6 separate regions of the Homo sapiens genome follow, and all the other regions are linked to region 2. The links are contacts of gene promoters, found by promoter capture Hi-C in human tissues and cell types (Jung and others, 2019). All regions are on one chromosome and are shown on one strand. The core of a region is centred on a gene start or on the middle of the fragment in contact, and the rest is flanking DNA. Distances in the headings are between cores, read along the strand shown.

Region 1 (4,391 bases), core at 1,798-4,297, 410 kb before region 2:
ATGGCAGTGCTTGGAGGTAGAACAGGGATGACCTCCTTTAATCACCTGCTTTTAATCACAAGTGGAAATGAAGCTGCTTGATTACTTGGTTCCCAGTGGCCATTAGTCTCTGCAGCCCAAGTGTCACCTCGTCCCTCCCCTCCTCCCTGGCCTCTGCCTCTCCTTCACAGCCTGTCTCTGCCCTGGTTTGCCAGGAGTCAGAGAGCACCACCGTGTCCATGGAGGGAGGTCCAGGGCATGGGGCAGACACGGCCGGGAGTGGGAAAGCGGCATGAGTGGACTTAGAACACGTTGCCCCTCCTGCATTCCTGCACTGCTGGATCCGTTCCTGTTGTTATTTCCTGAATCCTCTTTTGTTTTACAGCTGCACTCTATTTGTACTTCTTCCAAACTGGTCTGTATTTAGCCCTCTGTCCATACCACTAACACTTACTTTACTGTAGCCATGCCCTCTTAAACCATTTTCAGGAGTGGCAAGGAGAGCAGCTGGGACTCAGGCATCCCTGGGCTGGCATCTCAGCACTGTCACTCTAGCCTTGCCATGTGTGAACTGGGGACCAGCCTCTCAAGCTTGGTCCTGCTTTCATGCAACAAATATTTCTCGAATGACTACCTTGTGCCAGGCCCTATTGTAAATACTGAGGACACAGCAGTGAACAAGATAGATTCCTTCCCCTTGGGGAGCGGCCAGTCTAGAGTAGTAGGGAGGCAGGCCATAAACAAGATAATTAAACATATAACCTGGTCAGATGAGGACAAGACTGTGGAAGGGAGATGGGGAGAGAGGAGGCTGGGAATTAGCAATGTTAAATAGAGTGATCAAGAAAAGTCTTGGCTGGGCTCGGTGGGTCACATCTGTAATCCTAGCACCTTGGGAGGCCAAGGTGGGCCAGTTGCTTGAGCCCAGGAATTCGAGACCAGCCTGGGCAACACGGTTGAATCTTGTCTTTACAAAAAATACAAAAGTTAGCCAGGCGTGGTGGTGCACACCTGTAGTCCCAACTACTTGGGAGGCTGAGGTGGGAGGATCACTTGAGCCCAGGAGGTCGAGGCTGCAGTGAGCCATGAGCATGCCACTGTACTCCAGTTTTGGTGACAGAGAAAAACCCTGTCTCAAAAAAAAAAAAAATGAAAAGAGAAGACAAAACAACAGAAAAGTCTCATTTAGAAGGTGACATTGAACAAAGACTTGAAGGAGATGAGGGAGTAGGGGGTGAGGATTATACAAGGGAAGAACTGTCAAGGCTCATGGAACAGCAAACCCAGAAGTCCTGGGACAGAGGGTGTCTGATGTGTTTGAGGAATAGCAAGGTGGCTAATGGGCCCGGAGCAGAGTGGTCAAAGAAGAGAGTACCTGGAGAGGAAGTTACCGACATACTGGGGACCCAGATAACACAGGGCCATGTAGAACCAGAGCAACTCTGGCTTCAACCTTTTTGGAGATTCAAGCAGAGGAGTGGTGTGGTCCCACTCTTATTGGAAAGAGATCACTCAGTCTACTGTGTTCAGAGTGGCCTGACTGGGGGCAGGCCAAGGACAATGCAGAAAACCCAGCGATGGCCTGGCATAGTGGCGTGCACCTGCAATCCCAGCACTGTACGAGGCTGAGGCAGGAAGATTGCTTACGCCTAGGAGTTCGAGGCTGTGATGAACCAGGACGGTGTCACTGCATTCTAGCCTGGGCGACAGAGTAAGACCCTGTCTCTAAAAAGAAAAAAGAAGAAAGAAAACCCAGTGAGGAGGTTATCACAGTAATACTGGTGTGAGATGATGATTAGAAGTGATGGGATTCTGAATGTGTTAGATGGTAGAGCCAATGGAATTGGCTGACATAAGACAGGAATGAAGAGTTAAGGGAAATTGCAAGGTTTGGGGCCTGAACAACCATGGGATGGAGCTGCTGTTTCCTGAGGTGGAGCAGGCTGGGGAGCAGAGATCAGCAGTAGATCTTTGCTGCCAGCCAGGCTCCTGGAAGATGTGACAGGGAACTGCACAGGGAACTTGAGTTGGGGGCAGTGGCCTGCACTGGATGAAAACGTGGGAGTCTTTGGTGAAAGGTGGCATATTTTCACCAGCTAAATATAGGTGATCAGCTTGGTGCCTGGTACACAGACGTGACTCACAAATAGTTGTTAGGGACTACACATCTCTAATCCCATCGTCACTGGGCTCCGAGTGGCTACCTTCCTCACGTCCTCCTAACATGCCACTCATTCACTTGTTTGTCCAGTCATCTGGCCATGTTTACTGACCCCCAGGGGTGGAGGTATAGCAGCTACGGGATGCCAAGGTGAATGTTCCAGCCTGCCCTTGAACGCTCACCTGGCAGGACTGGCAAGGGCTGTGGCCAAGGCCTGTCCCTGATGCCATGGTCCCAGAGGGAAAGGTGGGTATCAATGCTTCCTGGAGGGGCTGTCTTCCAGGATGGCAGGAGAAATGTGTCCCGTAGCCAAGGGTGGCATCAAAAGGGCCAGTGTGTCAAGGGATACAAGCTGTCTAGGATAGACAGGGTGACATTGGGGGAGCGGGAGGGTCTGGAATCCGGCTGGAAAGGTAGTCAAGGTCAGGTGCTGCATTCTCTGGTGTCTGCACTTTACCCTAGAGGTGGACCTCTGCTTCGACCCCTTCCCTCCTACCCCTTCCTGCTGCACAACGACCAAGTTGCTCCCTTGCTAACAAGCCTTCAGGGGTTTCGCAGGCACTTAGGTTAAAAACCCCAACCAGGCCCCTCATGAGGAGCCCCAGACCCCTCGGCAGCTCCACTTTGAGCTCTTCAACCCTGCTGATCTTTCAGCTCCTTGAATTTTCCATATTCCTGGGCCCAGCTTGAAATTCTCTACAGATTTGAGCAATATACAAATATGTTGGCAACTCTTATTTTCCAGTGAATTGCTCAAATATCTCTATGGCTTGAGGGCAGGAAGCCCAGGAACCCCAGGAGCTTCCTTATTCTGAAGGGGCCAATGCCTTCTTTTTCAAATCCTCAATTCCCAGAAGGCTGGTCACACACATCTTTCTCTTCAAGTGGCTAAAGCTCCTGTTGCTACCTTTTTGAGTGAGAGCACCTCAGTGATTCCTGAGAATGTTTTCTTGTTGCCTCTGCTGTGAGGTGTCTCAAAATCTCTTCCTAGCAAGGTGCAGTGGCTCATGCCTGTAGTCCCACCTATTCAGAAGGCTGAGGCAGGAGGATTGCTTGAGCCTAGGTGTTTGAGACCAGCCTAGGAAATGTAGTGAGACCCCATATCTTAAAAATAATAATAATAATAATAATCTCTTCCTGAGTGAAAGAAACTCCCACAAGTTGGACTGACAGTAGGGCACCCCACCCACCCCTTTGTGCCCTCCCTGAAGGCCTCTGACCTGCTGTCCCTTCTGTTCTCGTCACCTCTTTCACTAAGTAGATCCCGTCATTCACTGGATCTCTCAGTTTGAATCTCATTTCCCTAACCCCTTCCCCTCCTGATTTGGACAAGTCCTCTGTTATATGATTTCATAACCCGTGTTGTACTGATGCTCATCACAGTTTAAACTTACAGATCTGTGGGACGGTTGTTAGTGTCTGTCTTGCCCTGCAACCCCCGCAAGGCTGTGATCTCCATGAGGACAGGATTTCCATCTGTTTTACCCAACATTTTTTTTTTTTTTTTTTGAGATGGAGTCTCGCTCTGTCGCCCAGGCTGGAGTGCAGTGGCGCGATCTCGGCTCACTGCAAGCTCCGCCTCCCGGGTTCATGCCATTCTCCTGCCTCAGCCTCCTGAGTAGCTGGGACTACAGGCGCCCGCCACCACGCCCAGCTAATTTTTTTTGTATTTTTAGTAGAGACGGAGTTTCACCATGGTCTCGATCCCCTTACCTCGTGATCCGCCCGCCTCAGCCTCCCAAAGTGCTGGGATTACAGGCGTGAGCCACCGCGCCCAGCCAATTACTCAACATTTTGTCCCTAGCACCTAGCACAATGCATTTGATTAGCTGTTAATAAATATTTGTTAAATAAGTGAATAAATGAATGAAGTCTCTAAGGTACTCACAGTCTGATGAGGAATGCAGGCATATAAACATATGCATAACGAGTGCTGGGTGGGGGGCAGGGAGAGAGAGAGAAGCTATATATAGCTACGGAGACTAGTGCAGTGGCAGTGGTCAGCCTTGGGACTTTTGGCAGCAAAGCCTTCTTGGAGGAAGTGACACCAGACTGGAGTCTTACAGAGTGCCAGGGTATCAGCCAGATGAGGCAGGTGGATGAAGGGGAGGAAGGTGGACACCACAGGCTGGAGCAATTCTAGGTCACCACTCGCTTATTGTGCGAGCCTGTGTGAGTTACTTCATCTCCCTGTGTCTGTGTCCCATTTCCTCACTTATAAAATGGGGTTGCCAATAATACCTATCTCATA
Region 2 (4,482 bases), core at 1,092-3,591:
GTTTTTAAAAAACCATGAGCATTTATTACTTTTGTAATAAAAGGAAAGAGATGCCCTTTTAAAAGAAAAGACGAGGGCGGAAACAAGGAAGTTGGCTTGCTGCTTGAGGAGTAAAGTCCCAGAGGCCACCTCCTTGACAGGAGGCGCTCTGGGGCATTCAGAATGGGAATGGCAGGTGGGCCTGGGTCTTCACAACCCAGCATCCGTAGGGCAGACGGCCATGCACAGATGGTACCAGGAATCACTGTGGCTGAGGACACAGGCTAGATCAGTGCCTGCCAGTGTCATGTTCCTGATTTAAGGGGCCAGCCTGGACACTGACCAGGGGAGAGCTGGGCTGTGATCCTTGACCCTCGGGCCCTCCACTCATATCAAATGGACCCTCTTGGGACTAGAGCCCCAGGAGGCAATGGCTGTGTGGGGTCCACCTTCACTATAGCCCTGGCCATCAGTCATCCCAAGTTAGAGCCCGGCTGCCCATGCAGTGCCGCTGTGGGAGGCACAGGAAGGCGGTGCTCAGTCTGAAGGTGGTTCAGGTCCGTACCTTAACTGAGCCCCCCCATGTACCCTCAACTGGCTCCTTTATGCAGTGAACACCCTGCACCACTGCAGCCCTATATCCAGGGCTGCGACTCAGTTCCTTCTCCCCTTCTCCCAGACTCTGGCAGACATACCTCAGATGGGGGCAGGAACCAAGAATGGCGGGGCTCCAGCCCCAGCTAGCCTGTCGGATAACTGCTGCATAAGTGACACCAGGAATCAGAGCCAGGCCAGGGCCACTGATGAGCCCTTGGATGCTCACTGTGTGATGCGTGCATTTGAAATATCTGACAGTAAGAGTGAGGCCTGGGAGAGATGCAGGGACTCTGAGGATGGGGGCCAAGCTGGGCTGAGAAACAAGTTAGTGGTGTCCTGCAGCAGCCCCTACAGCAAGTGCCAGCGTGGGAGGGAGGTGGGTAGGCATGGGGTGGGTGGTATGGCACTCACAGCACTGCCTGCAGACCACCACCTGACAGCTGGGCCGGTGGTGCCAGCTAATGGCTCCCTAGTTTTCTCGTAAGTCAGACGTGGCCAAAGCAAAACACTGAGCACACAGGTTGCCTTGAGGAGCAGTGACTGCCTCAAGAGCTCAGGGCTGAGGAGCTGGCTCCAGACAGCCTGTTGCCAATGTTCAGCAACATCACCCCACTCCTGGTTACTGATCGACCTGGTGTGCTCTTGAGAGTACCCCCACCAGGCCTCATGGGTCAATACTACTGTTATTGTTGCTATTGTTATTACCAGGCCCCGCCCTCCTAAAGCATTTGCATATTTTCATCCTTAATCACAGAACCAGAATCAGTATCTTCCAGAAGAGAAAACTGAGGCCCAGGAGAAAGCAAGAGGCTGTGCTGTGCTCCCAGGGCCTTCCTGGCTCGCTGTGGCTTTGAGCTCCAGGTCTCTCAGCTAGACAATGAGAACGTCGGCCCACGCGCGGCACAGTAAAAGCCCAAAATGCTATGATGGACGGGGTGGGCCGCTGGCTGCAGAGCCCTCCATACCACAGAGCATCTCTGGCTGGGAGAAAGGAGCAGGCTGAGGCCTGCAGCAGAGCGCGGGGTTGGGGACCGCTCCTGTTGGGCCCCAGCAAGGCGCCCTGAGACCCCTGCTCCATCCCTGCCGCTCCCCACCCGCCTGCTCCTAGCCTCTGTTCTAGCTCTGCCCGCGGCGGCCACAGCCTCCCCGAGCCGCCGGCCGGGCCCTCTGCTGCCCTCTGGCGGCCCGAGCGCGCGGTGCCGAGCTCCGCGCCTGAGGCCCTGAAACCCCGCGTCCGCCCGGCGGTCGCCTCCCGGGAACAAGAGCCCGGCTGGGGACCGGAGCGGAAGGGGGCTGGGGCTGGGGCTGTGCTCTGAGGACTGCAATATACGGTCCGCGCAAGCACTCAGCAAACGCTGCTGCGCTTACTGGGTTACTTACTAGATTCCTATTCTCTGGGGAAACTGAGAACCAAAGAAAATAAGTGTACGCGCGCGGGAGGTGCAGGAATGGGGGTCCTTGCCCGAAGTCGCAGAGGGACAGGGGCACCGCCGGGACCAGAACCCCGACGCCCCTGCGGCCGCCGAGCCCGCGGCAGTGGAAAAGCGGAGTCCGAGCGCCTCCAGCCTCAGCCCGACCCTGGACTGCTCCCCCCAGCCCCCGCGCCCAGAGAGCAGGAGCCCGGCAGCGGGTGACGAGGTCGCCGGGACTGGGAGCCGGTGCGGGGGAGGCGGGCCCCGCGGGGCGTGACGCACCGAGCTGGGAGGGCCGGGGCGGGGCAGCCGAGCAGGCTGCATATAAGGGCGGCGGCCGGGCGCCAAAGCCAGAGCAAGCGGCCTGTGCCCAGATCCTGGGAGAACCCCAGCCGAGCCCAGCCTAGCCCGAGCCCAGCCCGAGCGGAGCCGGAGCCCCAAGCCCGAGCCGCGCCCAGCCCGAGCAGAGCCCTCCAGCCGCTCACCCCGCGTGCCACCCCAGCGACCCTCAGCCGCTCTCTGCCCTTCTCTCGGCCCCGCGCCCGCCCTCGCGGCCCCTCTGCCCAATGAAACTGGCCGCGATGATCAAGAAGATGTGCCCGAGCGACTCGGAGCTGAGTATCCCGGCCAAGAACTGCTATCGCATGGTCATCCTCGGCTCGTCCAAGGTGGGCAAGACGGCCATCGTGTCGCGCTTCCTCACCGGCCGCTTCGAGGACGCCTACACGCCTACCATCGAGGACTTCCACCGCAAGTTCTACTCCATCCGCGGCGAGGTCTACCAGCTCGACATCCTCGACACGTCCGGCAACCACCCGTTCCCCGCCATGCGGCGCCTCTCCATCCTCACAGGTGAGCCGGGGGCCGGGCAGGTGCGGGAGGGAAGGGCGGGGAACCCTCGGCCAGGGCGCCCCGCGAGCGCCGGTCCGGCTGCCGCGCGCCGAGTAGTGCGCTTCGCGCTTAGAGAGGCTAGCGCGCCCCGCGCGGCCTCAAAGTCAGCCCGACTTGTCCCCTGGGCGGCCACCCTCACCTTCTCCTTTTCTGCTCTCTGTGCCCCCTCTAGGAGACGTTTTCATCCTGGTGTTCAGTCTGGACAACCGCGACTCCTTCGAGGAGGTGCAGCGGCTCAGGCAGCAGATCCTCGACACCAAGTCTTGCCTCAAGAACAAAACCAAGGAGAACGTGGACGTGCCCCTGGTCATCTGCGGCAACAAGGGTGACCGCGACTTCTACCGCGAGGTGGACCAGCGCGAGATCGAGCAGCTGGTGGGCGACGACCCCCAGCGCTGCGCCTACTTCGAGATCTCGGCCAAGAAGAACAGCAGCCTGGACCAGATGTTCCGCGCGCTCTTCGCCATGGCCAAGCTGCCCAGCGAGATGAGCCCAGACCTGCACCGCAAGGTCTCGGTGCAGTACTGCGACGTGCTGCACAAGAAGGCGCTGCGGAACAAGAAGCTGCTGCGGGCCGGCAGCGGCGGCGGCGGCGGCGACCCGGGCGACGCCTTTGGCATCGTGGCACCCTTCGCGCGCCGGCCCAGCGTACACAGCGACCTCATGTACATCCGCGAGAAGGCCAGCGCCGGCAGCCAGGCCAAGGACAAGGAGCGCTGCGTCATCAGCTAGGAGCCCCGCCGCGCTGGCGACACAACCTAAGGAGGACCTTTTTGTTAAGTCAAATCCAACGGCCCGGTGCGCCCCAGGCCGGGAGCGCGCGCGGACTGGCGTCTCCCCTCCCGGCGATCCGCCCCCAGCACTGGGGAGGCGCCACTGAACCGAGAAGGGACGGTCATCTGCTCCGGAAGGAAAGAGAACGGGCCAAGACTGGGACTATTCCCCACCCCCGGTCCCCCATTGAGGCCCGCCACCCCCATAACTTTGGGAGCGAGGGCCCAGCCGAGGGTGGATTTATCTTCTCAAAGACCTAAGAGTGAGCGCGGGGTGGGGGAGGGATGTGAAGTTATCCAGCCTCTGCTAGGCTTCAAGAAACCGTCATGCCCGCTTGAGGGTCAGGACCCACGGGGCATTATCTTGTCTGTGATTCCGGGTTGCTGTGACAGCCGGTAGAGCCTCTGCCCTCCCAAAACTAAGCGGGGGGGCGTGGGTCAAATCATAGCCAAGTGACTTGTTTACATGTGAGTGAAACTGCACAAAGGAACACAAAACAAAACTTGCACTTTAACGGTAGTTCCGGTGTCAACATGGACACGAACAAAACCTTACCCAGGTGTTTATACTGTGTGTGTCTGAGGTCTTTAAAGTTATTGCTTTATTTGGTTTTTTAATATACAATAAAATAATTTAAAATGGAAAACCGGTTTTTTTTTTTTTTTTTTTGCTTTTAGAGATGGCTGGAGTGGGGAAGGGTGGGGAGAAGGAAAGGGCTGGGCTTTGACTTAGGTGGAACTAGAACTTACCTTCCCCAGAACTGGAAAATAACCCTGGCCTTCTGAAGGCAGCTTCAGCTGCCAGAAAAGCCCCAGATGCCTGGGGCATC
Region 3 (4,379 bases), core at 1,874-4,373, 340 kb before region 2:
CGGCTCTCCGGCTACCTCCAGTCCAGACAAAACCAGGGGCAGCAGTGCTGTGAGGTCCTGAGCAAGTCGCTTCACCGTCCCGCTCCACGTGCCTCAATTTACTCATCTGTAAAATGGGATGGTAACAGCCTCAACCGCCTGAGGCTGTCGAGAGGAGTGAATGGGTTTAAACCGCACTGAACACTCTGTAAGCGCTCAGCAAGTAAACTGTGCCGAACCTGCCCGCCGGGGTCACCGTGGACCAGGCTGGATCCCTGACCCCTGATAGGCACACCATTACAGAGGGGCTTGTGTCCACGTTCCTTGGGCGTGCTCAACGCTCCCCAGCCAACCGGGGCCCGAGGGTCTTGTTTGGAGGTCTCAGGATCTTTGAGGAGAGAAACTGCCAAGACAAGCATGTTCCCCCTGAAAAATGGATCCCCTCTTCTGTTTTCCCCTACCCTCACGTTGAGGGTTGCCCTGGTAATCCCAGGCTGTGGGGCAAAGATTTGTTTCTTTGGTGGCAAAGATGTAAATTCTTCCCACCCCCACGTTGGACTGTGCCCCATGGGGGTTGGATTTTCTGGGGTGCAGGTCTTCTGTTGACCTTGTCTTACCTTCTTTCCCTTTCCCCTAACTCCTGCAGTTATGGAGTGAATATTTATTGAGCTATTCTATTTACATATGTGGTAACCCATTTAAAAACGGTGAGGCGGGTTGGGTGCAGTAGCTCACGTCTGTAATCCGAGCACTTTGGGAAGCCGAAGTGGGTAGATTACTGGAGGCTAGGAGTTCGAAACCAGTCTGACCAACATGACAAAACCCCATCTCTACTAAAAATACAAAAATTAGCCGGGCGTGGTAGTGCATGACTGTAATCCCATCTACTCGGGAGGCTGAGGGAAAAGAAATGCTTGAACCCGGGAGGCCGACGTTGCAGTGAGCCAAGATTGTGCCACTGCACTCCAGCCTGGGCAACAGAGCGAGACTCTGTCTTAAAAACAACAACAACAACAACAACAACAACAACAAAAACAGTGATAGCCAGGTGCAGTGACTCACACTTGCAATCCCAGCACTTTGGGGGGGCCGAGGTAGGTGGATCACCTAAGGTCAGGAGTTCAAGACCAGCCTGGCCAAAATGGTGAAACCTCATCTCTACTAAAAATACAAAAATTAGCCTGGCATGGTGGCGTGCGCCTGTAATCCCAGCTACTCAGGAGGCTGAGACAGAATTGCTTGAACCTGGGAGGTGGAGGTCGCAGTGAGCCGAGATCATGCCGCTGCACTCCAGCCTGGGTGACAGAGAGAGACTTTGTCTCAAAACAAAAAACAAAACAAAACAAAACAAAAAACAGTGAGGCAGATCTGTTGTGATGATGACTCCAAAACACCCTCCCTGCCTCTGCAGAGGGACTGCAGAAAGGGTTATTCCCATTTTATAGATACAGTAGCTGAGACTCAGAAGTGAGGTATTGGATCCAGGTCACACAGCAAGCAGGTGAAAACCCAGATCACCTGCCTAGCTCTGAAGAAAATGGTATTTAGGCTTCACCCAGCACTTCCTATCCCACCCCCTCCCTGGGAAGGGCTGTTTAAATTTTCAGGGAAGTCACCAGCTTCCTGCAGCCTCTAGAGTGTTGGTGGGGGTGGGGCACTGAGGAGAAGCCAGCTTTGTTCTCTGTGTTCTCCAGCAGTTGTTCATCTGGAGGGAGTGGGTCCTGGGTGGACCCTTGAGCAGGGCTACTTGGGGAGATGTGGTTTGGCGACCCCTATGACTTCTGGCGCCGCTATTCTGGGTAATTTTCCACCGCAGCCACTTCTGGGAGAGGAACAAAGGGAGCTGGATGTCCAGGCTGAGCCCCAGGGACTTGGGCTCTGTGGCTTCTCTCCCCCACACACCCCTTCTAAAATGCATCATGAATGTTACTCCTGCTTAGGGCGTGGCCAGATAGGCTATATCTGGAGTTTGAGCAAGGCAGTCTGCAGGATGGCTTGACTTATGAAGGTCTGGGGTCGGGAAGGCCTGAGGCCCAGGCCCCTGATGAGTTTCCTGGACTGCCCTCCACCAAGGGTGCTTCTCTCTGCTTGCATACCTCTGGGGACAGGGAGCTCACTGCCTTATCACATTCAGATTCCTGAATGTTAATTCTGGTTTATTTCAACCCACCTCATTGGGACCCCTTCCCTCCTTCCTGCCCCACCTGGCTCTGTCCCTAGGCCACAGAACCAGGTTCGGTTTCCAGCCCTCTTCTCAACAGGGCTGCCTGCTCTGATCTAGTCCCAGCTTGTGATGATCCAGGGCAGCCTGGCTCTGATCTAAAGCACAGCTACCTCTTCCTTGCGGCCCCTATCCTGGCTGCTCCTGGGAATAAGTGCCAAATCTGGGGTCAGACAGCCCTGGGGCCAGTCTTCCTTGGGTACTGGCTTCCTCCTTCAGGAGCTGCACTGGGCCCACTGGTATCCTATCCCTACAGCTGGATCTGGGAGGAAACCAGATGACGAAATTCCAGCCTCTTTCTTTGGCCACTCCTGTCCTCAAGAGGCCAATCTTCTGGTTTCTTTGCAGAGAGGGGGCAGGCTGATCTCACAGGTCATGCTCCCCTCCACATTGTCACTAGCCTCCCAGCCTGCCCGTGAGAAAGCATCATTAGGCCCATGTTACAAATGAGGAAAATTGAGGCAGAGTGATGTAACTGGCCCAGCAGTTACATCAGGCCTGCTCACAACACAGCAGGCCTGGGACCCCTATAACTTGGATCCTGGTCTGTCTTGTTCTAAAGAGTCAAATCTAGGAAATGAGGAAATGAAGTTTGGGATGGGCCCAGGCCTGGGGCTTCCACTCGGCTTCCTTGCTTGGTGCTGGAGAAACAGAGGCCCAGAGAGGGGGCTCGGCTTGCCCGCGTTCCCGCAGCAGCCGGCCAGAGGCCGCTGCCATTGTGCGCGAGGCTGGATAAAATGAATGACTGGAGGGCGCTCTGGAGGAGGGGCCGGCTGAGGGGAGATTTGTGGCGCAGACCGGGGATCAGGGGTCCCCCGCTCTCTCAAGGTGGGGCGGGGCCGTCTATCTGGGAGGGCGGGTCCTCCCCGAAAGGCCCCGCCTCCGCCTCGACCGCCCAGCAGAGCTGCGGCCGGGGGAACCCAGTTTCCGAGGAACTTTTCGCCGGCGCCGGGCCGCCTCTGAGGCCAGGGCAGGACACGAACGCGCGGAGCGGCGGCGGCGACTGAGAGCCGGGGCCGCGGCGGCGCTCCCTAGGAAGGGCCGTACGAGGCGGCGGGCCCGGCGGGCCTCCCGGAGGAGGCGGCTGCGCCATGGACGAGCCACCCTTCAGCGAGGCGGCTTTGGAGCAGGCGCTGGGCGAGCCGTGCGATCTGGACGCGGCGCTGCTGACCGACATCGAAGGTGCGTCAGGGCGGGCAGGGCTTGAAGCTGCGCCGGGTGGCGCGAGTAGGGGGCGCGCAGGTGTCTCCCTGGCCTTTGTCTCCCCCACGGGCGCCAGCTCCGTGCTGTGCTCGCGCGGGACTTCCCGGTGTCTCTGAGCTCGGTGTCCCGAGCCTCACCGAGCCTCCCTGGTTCCCGCGCTAGCGTCTCGGGCCGCGCGCTTGTGGGTGAGGGCTCCTGGGCCGGGCCGGGGTCCCTTGGCGGCTCCGGGCCGGGACACGTGCGCCTCTACGCGTCCCAGGCCGGGTGCCGCCCGACCGGTGACTCTCCAGCCCTGTGATGGCCACGGCTGAAGCTGGGGACCCAGGCGTCGCCGAAGCTCCGCCCCAGCCCCAGCCGTGACGTAATTGCGAGGTTACTCACGGTCATTCCCTCCGGCCCGAGAGTTCAGCTCGGCGTCGGAGCTCTTGCGCATGCGCATGGGCGCTGCCTCGCGCCCTTCCCCCGCCTCGTGTCGGGTTCTCCCGGTCTGCGACGGGCACAGCCTCCGCACTCATTCACTGACATCCACCGAATGCCAGGCCCCGTCTTAGGCACCGAGGGTTTACAGACAGACCTGGGTACCCCCTCTTTTAGGGAACACAAAAATCTCCCGGGAAACCAAACGGGTATTTAGTTGTACCTTGGGTGGAGCGAGGCTGGGGGAGGGCAGGGATGTGGCTACTTTGGGTAGAGCGGTCAGGGACTTCTAAGCTGAGACCTGAGGGTCACCCCCAGGACCAGCAAGGAAAGATGTTTTCCAGGCCACGGCAAGGGAAGGGCAAAGGCCTCGAGGCAGGGCCTAAGTGTGAGGAGTTAGAGGCTTGCAAAGGAGTGAGGTCAGGGAGGAGGAGGACGCAAACCGACTTGGTCGGCCAGGGAAAGGGCGGAGCAGAACAGTGGCACCGGCTTCCATCTTTGGAGCATCACCCTGGCTGTGATGAGAAGGGGTTTGGGGCCAATGGTGGCACCAAGTGCC
Region 4 (4,237 bases), core at 237-2,736, 390 kb before region 2:
CCAGCTAGCTCCTGTGACAGGCCCTCAGAGTGTGCTCACACCGCTGCATCACTTTGCTTTCTGAAAAGGCAGCTTTAAGAGGGGGCAGCCTCCCCCACCCTCAGTGCTGCTCTCAGGCTTCAGGTTAAGCACTCCAAGAGTGGCCAGACCTCCTGAGGCTTGCCACATCTTCTCTAGGGAGTATTCTCAGCTGGGTCAGCCTTCCAGCACCCCTCCTTTGTCACTGTCACTTCAGTCTGTTGACAGCCTAAGTGGCCATCTTTCCTCTGTTCTCTGAAGTAGGAAAATAAGGATGCTTAGTAACTGTGAGAACTGAATTCAGTTTAACCTGATAAATGTTGACTGACTGCCTTCTCTGTACACGGGTGAGAGACTCGGTGTCTGCCTTCAAAAGGTGTCTGGGCTGGGCGCAGTTGGCTCATGTCTGTAATCCCAGCACTTTGGGAAGCCAAGGTGGGTGAATCCCTTGAGTCCAGGAGTTCAAGACCAGCCTAGGCCACATGATGAAACCCCATTTCTACAAAAAATACAAAAATTAGCCAGGTATGGTGGCACATGCTTATAGTCCCAGCTACTCTGGAGGCTAAAGTGGGAGGATTGCTTGAGCCCGGAGGCAGAGGTTGCAGTGAGCTGAGATGGCACCACCATTGTACTCCAGCCTGGGGGACAGCTCTGACCCATGCCCAATTATTGAGGCATGTCCCAAGAAGATGCTAGGGACACATGGCATCTCTGGATGTCTCCCATCTGTACGTTTTCACATATGAATGGGAGACACCCAGAGATGAGAGACACCCAGAGCTGCATTTATTCAGAGGCGCCCCTGCACCCCATTTTTTCCTCTGTTGGCATGAGAATCCTATTCAATAGAGATTGCCATCATGAATATCTGCTCTGTTAGCAGCCATCTCATCCAGTCTGCACAGAGGTCCCAGATAAGGGTTGGAATTGTGGCAGGTAGGAAGCGGGTAGATTAGCCAAGACTACTTGATCGCAAATAACAGATGCCAACTCCAGCTTGCCTAGGCAAAGAGAAGAGTTTGTCATGACAGGGCAGAGTCTCCCAGAAGTCCAGGTCACCCCGCCCTGGGAAGGGACAGAAAATATCAGGAAGGCCTTCCAAATCCTCTCCTGTACGCCTGCACCTCCGAGCACTCTAGCTGCTCCTTCTGGAGAACATAGGCTGTCTCTGCTTCCAGTCCTGTGCTGGCACATGGCCCTGGAGTTACAGAGGACAGTTCTGCCTACCCAGTGAGAACATCCCAGCTTCTAGTGCTGCTGAGTTCCTGGAAGGAGGAGCATCTGATTGGCCCAACTTGGGTGTGCATTTCCCTCCCACTCCAGTCTGTCTCTGTGAACATGGAAGCAGAGTGCCTTAGAAAGTGGACCCGAAGAAGTATCCTCCAACTGGAGAGAAGAGCCATAGTTCTTTCATCTTTATTCCTATTATCTCAAATTTGGCTTGGGTAGAGAGCTAGATGAATTGAAAGGAATCCCTGGAGCTGTTGGTACTCCATGTACAAAGGCATGAAGTGGTGCCAGGAAGAACTGCCATGTGTTTTTTCCCCAGCCTCCGACAGTGGGCTGTGAAACTGGTTTTTAGACCCTAAAGTCAACACCCTAAACTAAAATGCTAGGGCATTTTGAGGTTGGCGTCACAGGACTTAGCTGGATTTTGAACCAGGTGGAGGCAGCCAGCGCAGCTGGTGGGGGCGGGGCCAGAGGCACTCCCTACGGGCAACCTACTCTCCTCCAGCTGGGCCTTCCAGACAGTGCTCTGTGAGGCACTTTCTTTGGCCCTCCTCAGAATCCAGAAGGAGTGTTGGCCAAGAGGGGCTGTCCTGATCCAGTAGTTTTAAATCCCTGAGCATGCAAATTAAATAAGTGCATCAGGGAAAGCCGGGCTGACAGTACTGTTCCTGGTGAGATGCATCAGTCATAATTAAGGAGGCTTTTTGGAAACTGACCTTTTAACTTCAAATGGGTCTGTTGGTTAGAGACAGAGTTTCTGTGGCTGCCTCAGGATTGGTTGTACCACATTGCTGGAGTGAGGGAGACAGTTAAATTCTGTGACAATGACAGACTTGGCAATGGAGTCATGGGCACAGGAGGCTCTGCCTCCTCCTTTGGGTATGTATGGTGAATGGGACAGCATGAGAAGGGCCATTTCTGGGAAGGCCTTTGAGTATTCTGTTTTTGATACAGTCCAAGACTTCCAAAGAACAGAATTTTTTTTTTTTTTTTTTTTTTTTTGAGACGGAGTCTTGCTCTGTCGCCCATGCTGGAGTGCAGTGGCGCCATCTCAGCTCACTGCAAGCTCTGCCTCCCGGATTCACACCATTCTCCTGCCTCAGCCTCCTGAGTAGCTGGGACTACAGGCACCCGCCACCACGCCCAGCTAATTTTTTTGTATTTTTAGTAGAGATGGGGTTTCACTGTGTTAGCCAGGATGGTCTTGATCTCCTGACCTCGTGATCCGTCCGCCTCGGCCTCTCAAAGTGCTGGGATTACAGGCATGAGCCACCGCACCCAGCCCAGAATTTTTTTTTTAATTTTTAAGTTTCATGAGTCAACAGAAATGATAATCTACTTGAATTTTTGCTCTTTCCTCTCTGTGATATGTTTTCACTGAAGGGAATCTGGTGATTGTGCTTTTCTTGGGATTTTTCGATTTGGGCACACATGTGCTGACATTTTTGGCAGCGGACATCATGAAAGAAGCTTGGGTCTGGGAAAAGGACCCCTGGGGGTGAACTCCCCAGTCTGGCCTGGGTCTAGCTCCCAATGGGCTCTTCTTCCCTTGAACCACAGTCATCTCACCTACTGGCAGCAGCGCTAGACAGAGCTAGGCTAGACAAGCTCAGCATTAGTTGTCTCTGATCTGAGGAAACCTGTAGTTAGCCTTTACTTCATGTCACACATCAATTTCTCCTTTCCTTTCTGCTCAATTTGTTGCCGGTTCCCAACTCCACCAGTAGAAGCTTTCAGGGCAGAGGTGCTCCCGCACAGAGGGCAGGCACCCTGCTGAGCTGACAAGGCTCCAGCTTCCACTCCCTGCAGCTGAACAGCCCCAGCAATTGATTTCCTTGCCATTAGGGAAATTCCTGCTTTTTAGGATGCACCACCGTGCATAGGTGTTATTTCTCTGTCTCTTCTCCAAGGAAATACATGCTAAATTAAGTTTTGTGTTTTTGTTCACGCTCAGCAGCACCATTGAAAGCCAGGGTTTCACCAGCTGTGTCGTGGCAGCAGTTGCGGAAGGAGAGGAACAGAATAGGTTTAGCCAGTGCAATTTGCATGTGCAAGTAGGAGAGCACTGGTCTCGGGGAGAGGACGTGGGCCACTTTGGATTTTCAGATACCATGGCAGCTCTGAGAAATGCTTCCTAACAGGCCTTCTATTATCCCAGGCATGGGCTGATGCCTTTCGAAGCAGTCCTGATCTCACCGGCGTTGTGCACATATATGAGGAGCTGAAGAGGAAAGGGGTTGAATTTCCCATGGCAGACTTGGACGCTCTGTCTCCCATACACACACCACAGCGGGTAAGCTTCCAGCTGGCACTTTCTAGAAAGACCTACTGCAGAACGGGTGAGCCAAGCTGCTGCAGCCACCCTTCTGCTGCTGCCTTTGAATTATTCAGCTTGTCATCATGCTTTCTTAAAGCTCGGGGGCATTCCTTTTTAATAACAAGGGGCATGCAGGAGTGAGACAGCTGGTTGACTGGTGATTAAGTGGCAGCAGTGTCTGTGGAAGAATATAATAAAGGGATCAGTTCAGGGTTTTCATGGAAATGGCTACTTGGGCGGAGCCATCCTGTGAGGGTCATTAGCACCTGCTTTTCAGAGGCCCCTAGAATCTGGTGTGGGAATCCTGTTGTCCCTCAGAGCACCATAGCACCTCAGGGCTTGATGTCACTCTTGGGTCAAAAAGTAGCTTTCTGTTTTTTCAATTGTACCAAGTCAAATGGATCTAAAATTTATTTTGAGCTGTGAGTATTCAGCATCAATCCAGAATTGATTCTGGATTCAATCCTTGATTCCATCAGCCTTGGGATCAAAGCCCTGGGAAGGTCCCTTTAGGGGCATCCCACCAAAGCTTTTGCAGTGCCAACAGTAACTTGAGCACCGTGGAGGGGGCAGCTTGGCACTTCAGGGTTAAAAGCATGTAGGTCATGCCTCATGGTTTCTCAAGGAAGCTAGTCCCTCTACTGGCTGGGAATCAACTCCACTCCTAGC
Region 5 (3,920 bases), core at 1,196-3,695, 430 kb before region 2:
GTGTCTGTCTACCGTGAGGGTCTCTGCAGTCCTCCTTGTGCCTACCAAGTTCAAAGTTAGGTCCTACACATTCCCAGACCCCCCTTTTTTTTAACCACTTTCACAAGAGTCTCTGATTTGGTCATTTCCTAAGACCATCTGGACCAATTTTTTGGTTTTTGTTAGGAGAATGGGCTAAAGTTTGTATGTTGGTAATTCTCTATACCCCACTTTCTGGAGCACTTAAGGCAACACTCGGTAAAATGACTGCATAATGAGTAGTGTCAGCATTCCAGTCCAACAAAAAGAGGCTGTCTCATGGTCTGATAACCTTAAGGACTTCAGGCTTGGCAGTCTCATTTCTGAAGAACTAGAATGGAGTGTCTTTTTTGTTTTGTTTTTGGAATGGAGTGTCTTAACCATGGTGCTCTTGCCTTCCTGTGTGTGCCCAGGCATGGGCTCTGTATCTCTGCTAGTGGTCTTCATAAAGACACAGAGACAGCCCTCCCAACAGAGCTGTCACTCACTCTCTGTAGTACCTCACTCATCGCAGCTGCCTTGCTGTTGTGGAAATTCATGTTGTGTTTAACTTGTCTAAGTGTTCATACCAACAGTCACAGCTAAAGCTCTAGGGCAGAAGTGGTATCTGACTGAGGCCAGGGATTGGTGAATAACCTGTTGAAAGTGTGTGCAGAATTGTGTGTGTAATTCTCTGGAAAGGTCTTATCAGATTTTCAAAGGGAATGTATTCTTCCTTTAACATCTTATCCAAAAAGTTAACTACTGCTCTGAAAAATGACAGTCTATGGATTTCTTCCTGACATTCTTTTTTTTGTTTTTGAGATGGAGTTTTTGCTGTTGTTGCCCAGGCTGGAGTACAATGGTGCGATCTCGGCTCACCACAACCTCCGCTTCCCGGGTTCAAGCGATTCTCCTGCCTCGGCCTCCTGAGTAGCTGGGATTACAGGCACATTCCACCACGCCTGGCTAATTTTGTATTTTTAGTAGAGATGGGGTTTCTCCACGTTGGTCAGGCTGGTCTGGAACTCCCGATCTCAGGTGATCCACCTGCCTCCCAAAGTGCTGGGATTACAGGCGTGAGCCACCACGCCCAGGCTCTGACATTCTTGAATATCCCTATCAACCCCTCTCACCCACCCAAAGCCTGCTGCTCAAAGCAGCTCTAAGCAGAAGAGATGGAGAAACATTCAGACTGGGTGGAGCATGGCCCAGGCTGTGTTGCTGCCCACTTCTGTCTAGATGGGCAGTTCTTGACTTCCCCGCCTGACGCTGCTGAGCAGCCACAGTCCCGACTGCATTCTGGCTTGTACCCTTTACTATAGTGCCAGCCACAGAGAGCAGCCATGCAGCATTTTTAAGTAGCCAAGGAAAGGCCCGTTCTCACAGCAGTGCTTGGGGAATCTTCAGACTTGGTATTAGGAACCATAGCAATGAGACTTGTTACAAGCTTGCAAAACAAAATGGGATTTTTCTGTGTGGTCCAGCAAGGATCTAGACAGAAAGTCTGCTTGATTTTGTTTTGCCTTGCTGGCTTCATAAACCCACGTAGCAGAAGCACTTTGTGAATCAGAAATGGAAGCATTGTTCTCTGATACTGAGGAATGCCTTTCCTGAATGGCTACTGTGGGTGGGAATAGCTCTAAAGAAAAAAAAAATCCTGAGACACAGACAGCAGCTATTTATGTTCTATTCTGTTTGACACACATTATTGAATACCTACTGTGTGCTGGTAAAATTCATGGTGCATCAGGGAAGGCAGGTCCATGAGGAACCATTAGACAAGCAATAGGGGCTGGATGAGCCTCAGCAAGTGAGGACTGTGAGATCCCAGAAGAGTGCAATTAATTCATCTCGTGTGTGCATGCTCACGCGGGGGCCGTCTGGGGCCCTCACTGAGAGGAGGCAACGAGCTGAGTGTTAAAGGGAGGGTGTCGCCTTCTGTGTTCTCTTTTGACCCTTTCCATTATGTGAGCATGCATTTTTACCTTGTGGTGATTAGTATGCACATAATATTTTATCCTGCCTGTTTTCCTCTTAGCATTCCTATGCCGATTTCCACTTAGCGACTAGGCTGAAGTATTTATCATTTTAAAAAGCCACGTAGCGTTTTTGCCTTATTGATGTACCCTCGTTGCTTAGCCATCTTCTCGTTTGTTGGGAGCAGCAGTGTTTTTCTCAATTATGCATCTTTGCAGAATCAGCTCTCCCCTTCCCCCTTATTTATTTCCTTAGGGGGCTATTGCCGGGTCAAAGTTATGAATGGTTTTATGCTGTCTCCTACTGATTTTTTTTGTTGTTACAGAAAATTTCAGACATATACAAAAGGAAAAAGATGACTATAATGAACCCCCACATACTCATCATTGAGCTTCTACAATTATCAATTCATGGCAGTTTTGGTTCATCCATAGCCCCACACACTTTTATCCTGGATTATTTTTCAGTAAATCCCAGACATCATATAATTTCATCTATGAATACCTAAGTATGCATTTCTAAAAGATAAGGAATCTTTTTAAAAGTATAGCTGACTGGGTGTGGTGGTTCATGCCTGTAATCCCAACACTTTGGGAGGCCTGGGTAACATAGTGAAACCCTGGCTGTACCACGAATACAAAAATTAGCCAGGTGTGGTGGCACATGCCTGTAGTCCCAGCTACTCAGGAGGCTGAGGGTGGGAGGCTCACTTGAGCCTGGAAGGTTGAGGCTGCAGTGAGCCAAGATTGTGCCGCTGCATTCCCAGCCTGAGTGACTGAGTGAGATCCTGTCTCAAAAAAAAAAAAAAAAAGTATAGCCAACAGCTTATTATCATATCTAAAATAAATTAATCATAATCCTTAATATCATAAAATATCTAGTCATCCAACTGACAGTTTAAGATTCCCTAGTGTTTTCTGTGGCCATTCTCACGAGGCCAAATGTTTATTTGCTCCACCATGTTCTTCAGGGAATGTTTCCCTTGATGTATCACATTGAGGTTGAGTTCTTTATCAAGAAAGGTCTGCATGCAGGTCCTGGCCTCAGAAAGAGATGGAGGGAAAGAAGAAGGGATAAAGAGAGGCCTCTCTCCACAGCCTCTGCAGCTGGCCTCATGTGGTTTGCGCCACATAGGGTGGTAGGTTCTCTCTGCCCGTTACTCACATGGTAAACCCAGCTGTGCTGCTTTATCCACATACCAGCTTGACTTGGTACAGTGTGCTGAAAATAATGTCGGGCCTGTCCCTTTGGACTCCACCCCCATTGAAGAATGCAGTTTCATGCTGTTGGTTTTTTTAGTGCTAAAGAAACTAGATAGATACTGTGTTTATTTTTCTACAGTAAAAATCCGAAAAGCTAGGAAAATGCCTATTCCCTGTTGGATTTTGATCTTATTTGCATGTTTCCCTTGGCAAGCTTTGTTTCGTATTATTCAAGGTGACCCACTTAGAACTACTGTTTAAAGTCACATTGTCATTAATAAGTTACACAACCTGTGTGTGATAAGTCTGTTAGCCCTGAATATTGTATAAACAGGAATACATGCTTGTGTTGGGGCTCTTCTTCATATTTAAATATGGTTACATTTCTTTTTCTTTTTCTTTCTTCCTTTTTTTTGAGACAGAGTCCCTCTCTGTCGCCCAGACAGGAGTGCAGTGGTGTGATCCTTGCTCACTGCAACCTCTGCCTCCCAGGTTCAAGCGATTCTTGTGCCTCAACCTCTCAAGTAGCTGGGATTACAGGCGTGTGCTACCAGGCCCAGCTAATTTTTGTATATTTTGTAAAGATGGAGTTTCACCATGTTGGCTGGTCTTGAACTCCTGAGCTCAAGCAATCCGCCCGCCTCGGCCTCCAAAACTGCTGGGATTACAGGTGTAATCCATCACACCAGGCCCAAATATGGTTACATTTAAATGTAATCTTCCCTGTTTGTTCTCACTGTT
Region 6 (4,366 bases), core at 1,329-3,828, 490 kb before region 2:
TGTGCCTTGACTATGGGGGTGTGTGCTGGTCACTCCAAAGGGACCACATCTCGTCTGTCTCTGTTCCCAGTGAGCACAGGACATACGCCCAACACTAACAGGTATGTACCTCAGCAAATGTTTGTTAAATAAGTGCAAGACACAGGGAAAGAACCGCCACTAATGTGGAGGTTGTAAACTAGTGCTCTCCGATGAATTTTGTTGGGTAAGCATGGTATTTAAACATGAGCAAATCCCTCATGGAGTAATCCAGATTCCTGGCTTTTCCAGGAAAATGAGAAGATCTGAACACTCAGCCTGTACTTCCCCTAGCCACAGACCCCCACTCAACCCACGGCGCTCCAAGGCTCTGCAGGTGTGCGTGAGGGCGGGCTGGGCGGCCACTCACGTTCATCATGTTGTCAATCCGGTTGTTGCCCAGCGACAACACCTGCAGCTTGACGAGGGCGTCCAGGGAGTCGATCTTGGAGATCCGGTTGTTGAACAAGCTCAGGTCCTCCAGGTTCACCAGTGTGTCCAGCCCCTCGATGGTCTCAATGTTGTTGAAAGACAGATCTGGGAAGAAGAGAGGGCTGTGAGGGTCTGCTGCCTGGGTCAGGGGATGGGCTGTCCTGAAATAAAACCATCAGGGCTACTGAGTGCCCTGTGAGCCAGCACCAAGCTGCCAGGGCCAGAATTTGACTCACTGTCTAATAGTTTGTGATTTTTTTAGAAGCCAGGTGTGAATTATTTCCTGCAGCCTCCAATATTCACTACCCTCTCCAGTTCCGCCAATCATCCTCCTGGCTGGGGACATGTGGGCAAATACTGGTGTCTATGCTCTGCCATAGTTCTGGGAGGAAAATACTAACCCGCAGGTCTGAAGCAGTGCCCTTGGGGGTCGGGGTAGACAGCGGTGGAGTGTCCCCTTTCCTCACACCTGTGGCATTTTAGCAAGACCACCTCCTGTGTGCTTTGCATTTACCAGTTTATCAAGCACTCGTGTATATCCTCTGACAGCAGCCCTGAGTGGTAGTTTGGAATTTCTCTTGCTGTTTTATCATTTGGGAAGCAGAAGCTCAGAGAGACTCAGTGATTTGCCCAAAGCCACACAGCTAACCACAGTGGGGCCAGAGTTCATCTAAGGCTTCTCCCTGGACATGTGGCAGGTCAGGTTCCTCCAGCTCCATCACAGCTGTCTCAGGCTCCCTCAACCCCAACCGAGACTTTTGACTAATTCCACATCTTTGGGAATAAAAGTACCTTCCTTTTTTTTTTTTTTTTTTTTTTTTTGAGACAGGGTCTCGCTCTGTTGTGCAGACTGGAGTGCAGTGGCGCAATCACGGTTCATTGCATCCTTGACCTCCTGGGTTCAAGTGATCCTCCTGCTTCAGCCTCCTGAGTAGACTGGACCACAGGTATACGCCATCACATCCAGCTAACTTTTTAAAAAGGTTTGTATAGAGACAGGCTCTTACCATATTGCCCAGGCTAGTCTCAAACTCCTGGGCTCAAGTGATCCTCCCACCTCGGCCTCCCAAAGTGGGGATTACAGGTGTGAGCCACCATGTCCGGCCTAAAAGTACTTTTTCCCCACTACAGGTTTTCAGGGTTACCTGGCAGGTGGGGCTGTTATCTTGTCCTGGAACACCAATGGCCTAGAGGCCAAAAATGAGCATTTTTCCTGGGCTTGGAAATATGAGCATGATAACCACAGGGTGATCACATTTAAAAGGTGATTTGGGGCTGGGCGTAGTGGCTTACACCTGTAATCCCAGCACTCTGGGAGGCCGAGGCGGGGGGATCACTTGGGGGTCAGGAGTTCCAGACCAGCCTGGCCAACCTGGCAAAACCCTGTCTCTACTAAAAATACAAAAATTATCTGGGCATGGTGGCACATGCCTGTAATCCCAGCTACTCAGGAGGCTGAGGCACGAGAACCACTTGAACCTTGGAGGTGGAGTGAGCCGAGATTGTGCCACTGCACTCCAGCCTAGGTGATGAAGTGAAGCTTTGTGTCCAAAAAAAAAAAAAAAAAAAAGGTGATTTGGGAGATGAGTTTAACCACATCTTAATATAGCCTCCTCCGCATATCAGGGGATGCTCACCTGTTGACATTGAGACCAATGATAACTCTGTCCTTTCTCTATGCCAGGCCCTTTAAGTGCATTACCTTGTTTAATCCTCATAGCACAGATAGCATCATCCCCATTTTATAGATGAGGAAACTGAGATTCAAATGGGCCTCATGGTAATATGCTCAAGGTAGCACAGCACATAAAGGAATCGAGGTTCGGGCCAGGTGCAGTGGCTCACGCCTATAATCCCGGCACTTTGCGAGGCTGAGGCGGGTGGATTGCTTGAGGCCAGCAGTTCGAGATCAGCCTGGTCAACATGGCAAAACCCTGTTTCTACTAAAAATACAAAAATTAGCCACCCATGGTGGCACATACCTGTAATCCCAGCTACTTGGGAGGCTGAGGCATGAGAATCACTTGAACCTGGGAGGCAGAGGTTATAGTGAGCTGAGATTGTGCCACTGCACTCCAGCCTGGGTGACAGAATGAGACTCCATCTCAAAAAAAAGAAACTGAGGTTCACAGAGTGGAATATCTTGTGCAAAGTCAGTATGTTGGCCAAGCTGGGGTTTGAATGGGGGTCTAACAAATGCCAGGCCTGCACACTTCCTTTCCCACCGTGCCACTGGGTTCTGTTCTTGGGAGGCTTAGCCTACCCCCTAGTGGTGTGCTAGCAAGTGTTTACCAATGGGGGCTGAGGAAAACCCCTGATTTGAGGTGCTTGCTCATTTCTGTGGTGTAAATACTCCCACCGTGGCCAATTTCAAGCTACCAGCGTGGCATCCCTGGAAGCAAAGTTGGGAAGAAATGTGTATAGCCAGCTGTTGAGAGCCAGGGCTAGCCAGCTCCAGCACATCCTCAGCCCTGTGCATGTCAGTGTGGGAGGTCGTGCTGAACCATGGGAGTGCCACCTCCCTAACCCCCATCCTCAGCACCCCAGGGATCCAGCTCTTCTGGCTGTGGTTGGGTCCCTGGGCACCTAGTGCCATGGCTGGACAAAGACCAGCTTCTGCCTATACTCTGAGGGGCAGTGTGACCTCTTAACAGAGCCTGCCCTCACTGCTCTAGCACCCCCATCCCAGGGAGCACTGGCCATCAGTCCAATGACCCTTGGAAGCGTGGATGGCCACTGCAAGGGGTTGGGGGAATGAGCTGACTAGGAAGTGTGTGTGCAGGGGCTCCAAGTAGTAGGAAAATAAGCTTCTGTTAGGGAGGGAACCAAGACCAGTATTCAGGTTTCTCTCTGGGTAAGCAGACAGAAAGAGGGAGCTGTCATGGGGCTCAGTGGTACTTGCTTTATGTCTGAGAGACAGCCAGGCCAGAGAGCTCCTGCTTAAAACCATGGCATTCATGAATCAGCATTAATGGGTGCTAGAGTGCAGAGAAATGAGAAACCTGGGACAAGAGACCTGGGCCCAGGTGTGAGAGGACCTGGCTGTGGTTTGCTCCTGCTACCTGTAGCACATGACTCCATCAAGCTGGTCAGCCTCCCTGAGCCTCAGTTGCTGCATGTGTGAAATGGCAGCATAACCCTGCCTGTGGGTTTGCTATGGGCTTGCAATTGTCAGCACAAAGGAGGATGGGAGTGTTTGGCAAATTGGAAGGCTCACGATGCCCCAGGGTGCCCTTATTACCAGAAGACCGCCTAATAGGATGGAGGGAATGTGGGCTGTGAGGTCAGACAGGCGTGGGGGTGAGTCCCAGCTCTGATACTTCTTGGTCGTGCAGCTTTGGGCAAGTGCCTGGGGCTCCCTGAGTCTCAGCTCCTCTTCTGTAGATTGGGATTATAACAGATGCCCAACTCTTAGGATTAAAATGGGGGTTAAACAAGACAGGGCATAAGGAGCTCTCAGGCCCATCACCTTCTCCCTGCTAGGGACCCATTGCCCCTCACCAGATGTGAGGATGCTCCTAAGAGGCCAGCAGAAGGAACATCTCATCAAAACCCTCCATGGCCTTGGCAGTGAGACCTGATGTGGTGTGGTGACCTCAGTTTGCTCATCTCTATGACGGGGATGCTGTGTGAACTGAAAGACCCATATGGAAAGCATATAGGCCCCACTTAGCATGTAGTTAAGTGCTTGATACACACTAGCCTCTGTGACGATTATTCCTGGTTTCATCTGGGTCCCACCAGCCAATGGTTACCTGTCGATGGTTATCTGTCAGCCTGAGTCTAGATTAAATAGGAGTCCACAGCTGCCCCTTTGTACCCCATCCAGACTGAAAGTTTGGGCAGATGAGAGCAGAATATTCTGTGGTCTTGTGTCTGAGCACATCTTTGCTGCACTTTGCCCAGCACAAGCCCT

Evidence for each region. The method cuts DNA at HindIII sites, captures the fragments that hold promoters and counts their contacts. A contact is called where the count stands out against the background at its distance.
Region 1: a contact is called between a fragment that was not itself captured here and the fragment with the promoter of RASD1 in region 2, in 1 of the 25 tissues and cell types used here (pancreas).
Region 3: a contact is called between the fragment with the promoter of SREBF1 here and the fragment with the promoter of RASD1 in region 2, in 1 of the 25 tissues and cell types used here (adrenal gland).
Region 4: a contact is called between a fragment that was not itself captured here and the fragment with the promoter of RASD1 in region 2, in 3 of the 25 tissues and cell types used here (H1 embryonic stem cells, aorta and dorsolateral prefrontal cortex).
Region 5: a contact is called between a fragment that was not itself captured here and the fragment with the promoter of RASD1 in region 2, in 1 of the 25 tissues and cell types used here (dorsolateral prefrontal cortex).
Region 6: a contact is called between a fragment that was not itself captured here and the fragment with the promoter of RASD1 in region 2, in 1 of the 25 tissues and cell types used here (heart right ventricle).

The regions. Positions count from the first base shown.
Region 1 is chr17:17,902,871-17,907,261 of GRCh38, reverse strand. All of the region lies in intron 2 of TOM1L2 (target of myb1 like 2 membrane trafficking protein), which reads left to right. Among named protein-coding and RNA genes, the nearest start is that of TOM1L2, 67 kb to the left of the region's middle. The HindIII fragment of the contact is 5,652 bases long and covers 222-4,391 here.
Region 2 is chr17:17,494,254-17,498,735 of GRCh38, reverse strand. RASD1 (ras related dexamethasone induced 1) reads left to right here and starts at 2,341. Exons shown (of 2, transcript NM_016084.5): 1 at 2,341-2,840; 2 at 3,052-4,299. The coding sequence starts at 2,555. The coding sequence ends at 3,611. RefSeq lists silencers at 1,621-1,850, 1,901-2,030, 2,191-2,410. The HindIII fragment of the contact is 34,145 bases long and covers 1-4,482 here.
Region 3 is chr17:17,835,730-17,840,108 of GRCh38, reverse strand. SREBF1 (sterol regulatory element binding transcription factor 1) reads left to right here and starts at 3,123. Exons shown (of 19, transcript NM_004176.5): 1 at 3,123-3,382. The coding sequence starts at 3,292. RefSeq lists silencers at 1-122, 3,115-3,274, 3,465-3,744 and enhancers at 1,542-2,443, 2,444-3,346, 3,347-4,248. The HindIII fragment of the contact is 17,140 bases long and covers 1-4,379 here.
Region 4 is chr17:17,883,941-17,888,177 of GRCh38, reverse strand. It overlaps TOM1L2 (target of myb1 like 2 membrane trafficking protein), which reads left to right. Exons shown (of 15, transcript NM_001082968.2): 5 at 3,410-3,544. Among named protein-coding and RNA genes, the nearest start is that of SREBF1, 49 kb to the right of the region's middle. RefSeq lists enhancers at 2,598-3,357, 3,358-4,119. The HindIII fragment of the contact is 4,674 bases long and covers 1-3,823 here.
Region 5 is chr17:17,926,532-17,930,451 of GRCh38, reverse strand. All of the region lies in intron 1 of TOM1L2 (target of myb1 like 2 membrane trafficking protein), which reads left to right. Among named protein-coding and RNA genes, the nearest start is that of TOM1L2, 44 kb to the left of the region's middle. The HindIII fragment of the contact is 3,577 bases long and covers 657-3,920 here.
Region 6 is chr17:17,984,121-17,988,486 of GRCh38, reverse strand. DRC3 (dynein regulatory complex subunit 3) reads right to left here. Exons shown (of 14, transcript NM_031294.4): 5 at 389-555. It overlaps LOC107984989 (a long non-coding RNA gene), which reads left to right. Exons shown (of 3, transcript XR_001752801.2): 2 at 1-101. Among named protein-coding and RNA genes, the nearest start is that of DRC3, 13 kb to the right of the region's middle. The HindIII fragment of the contact is 5,475 bases long and covers 1-4,366 here.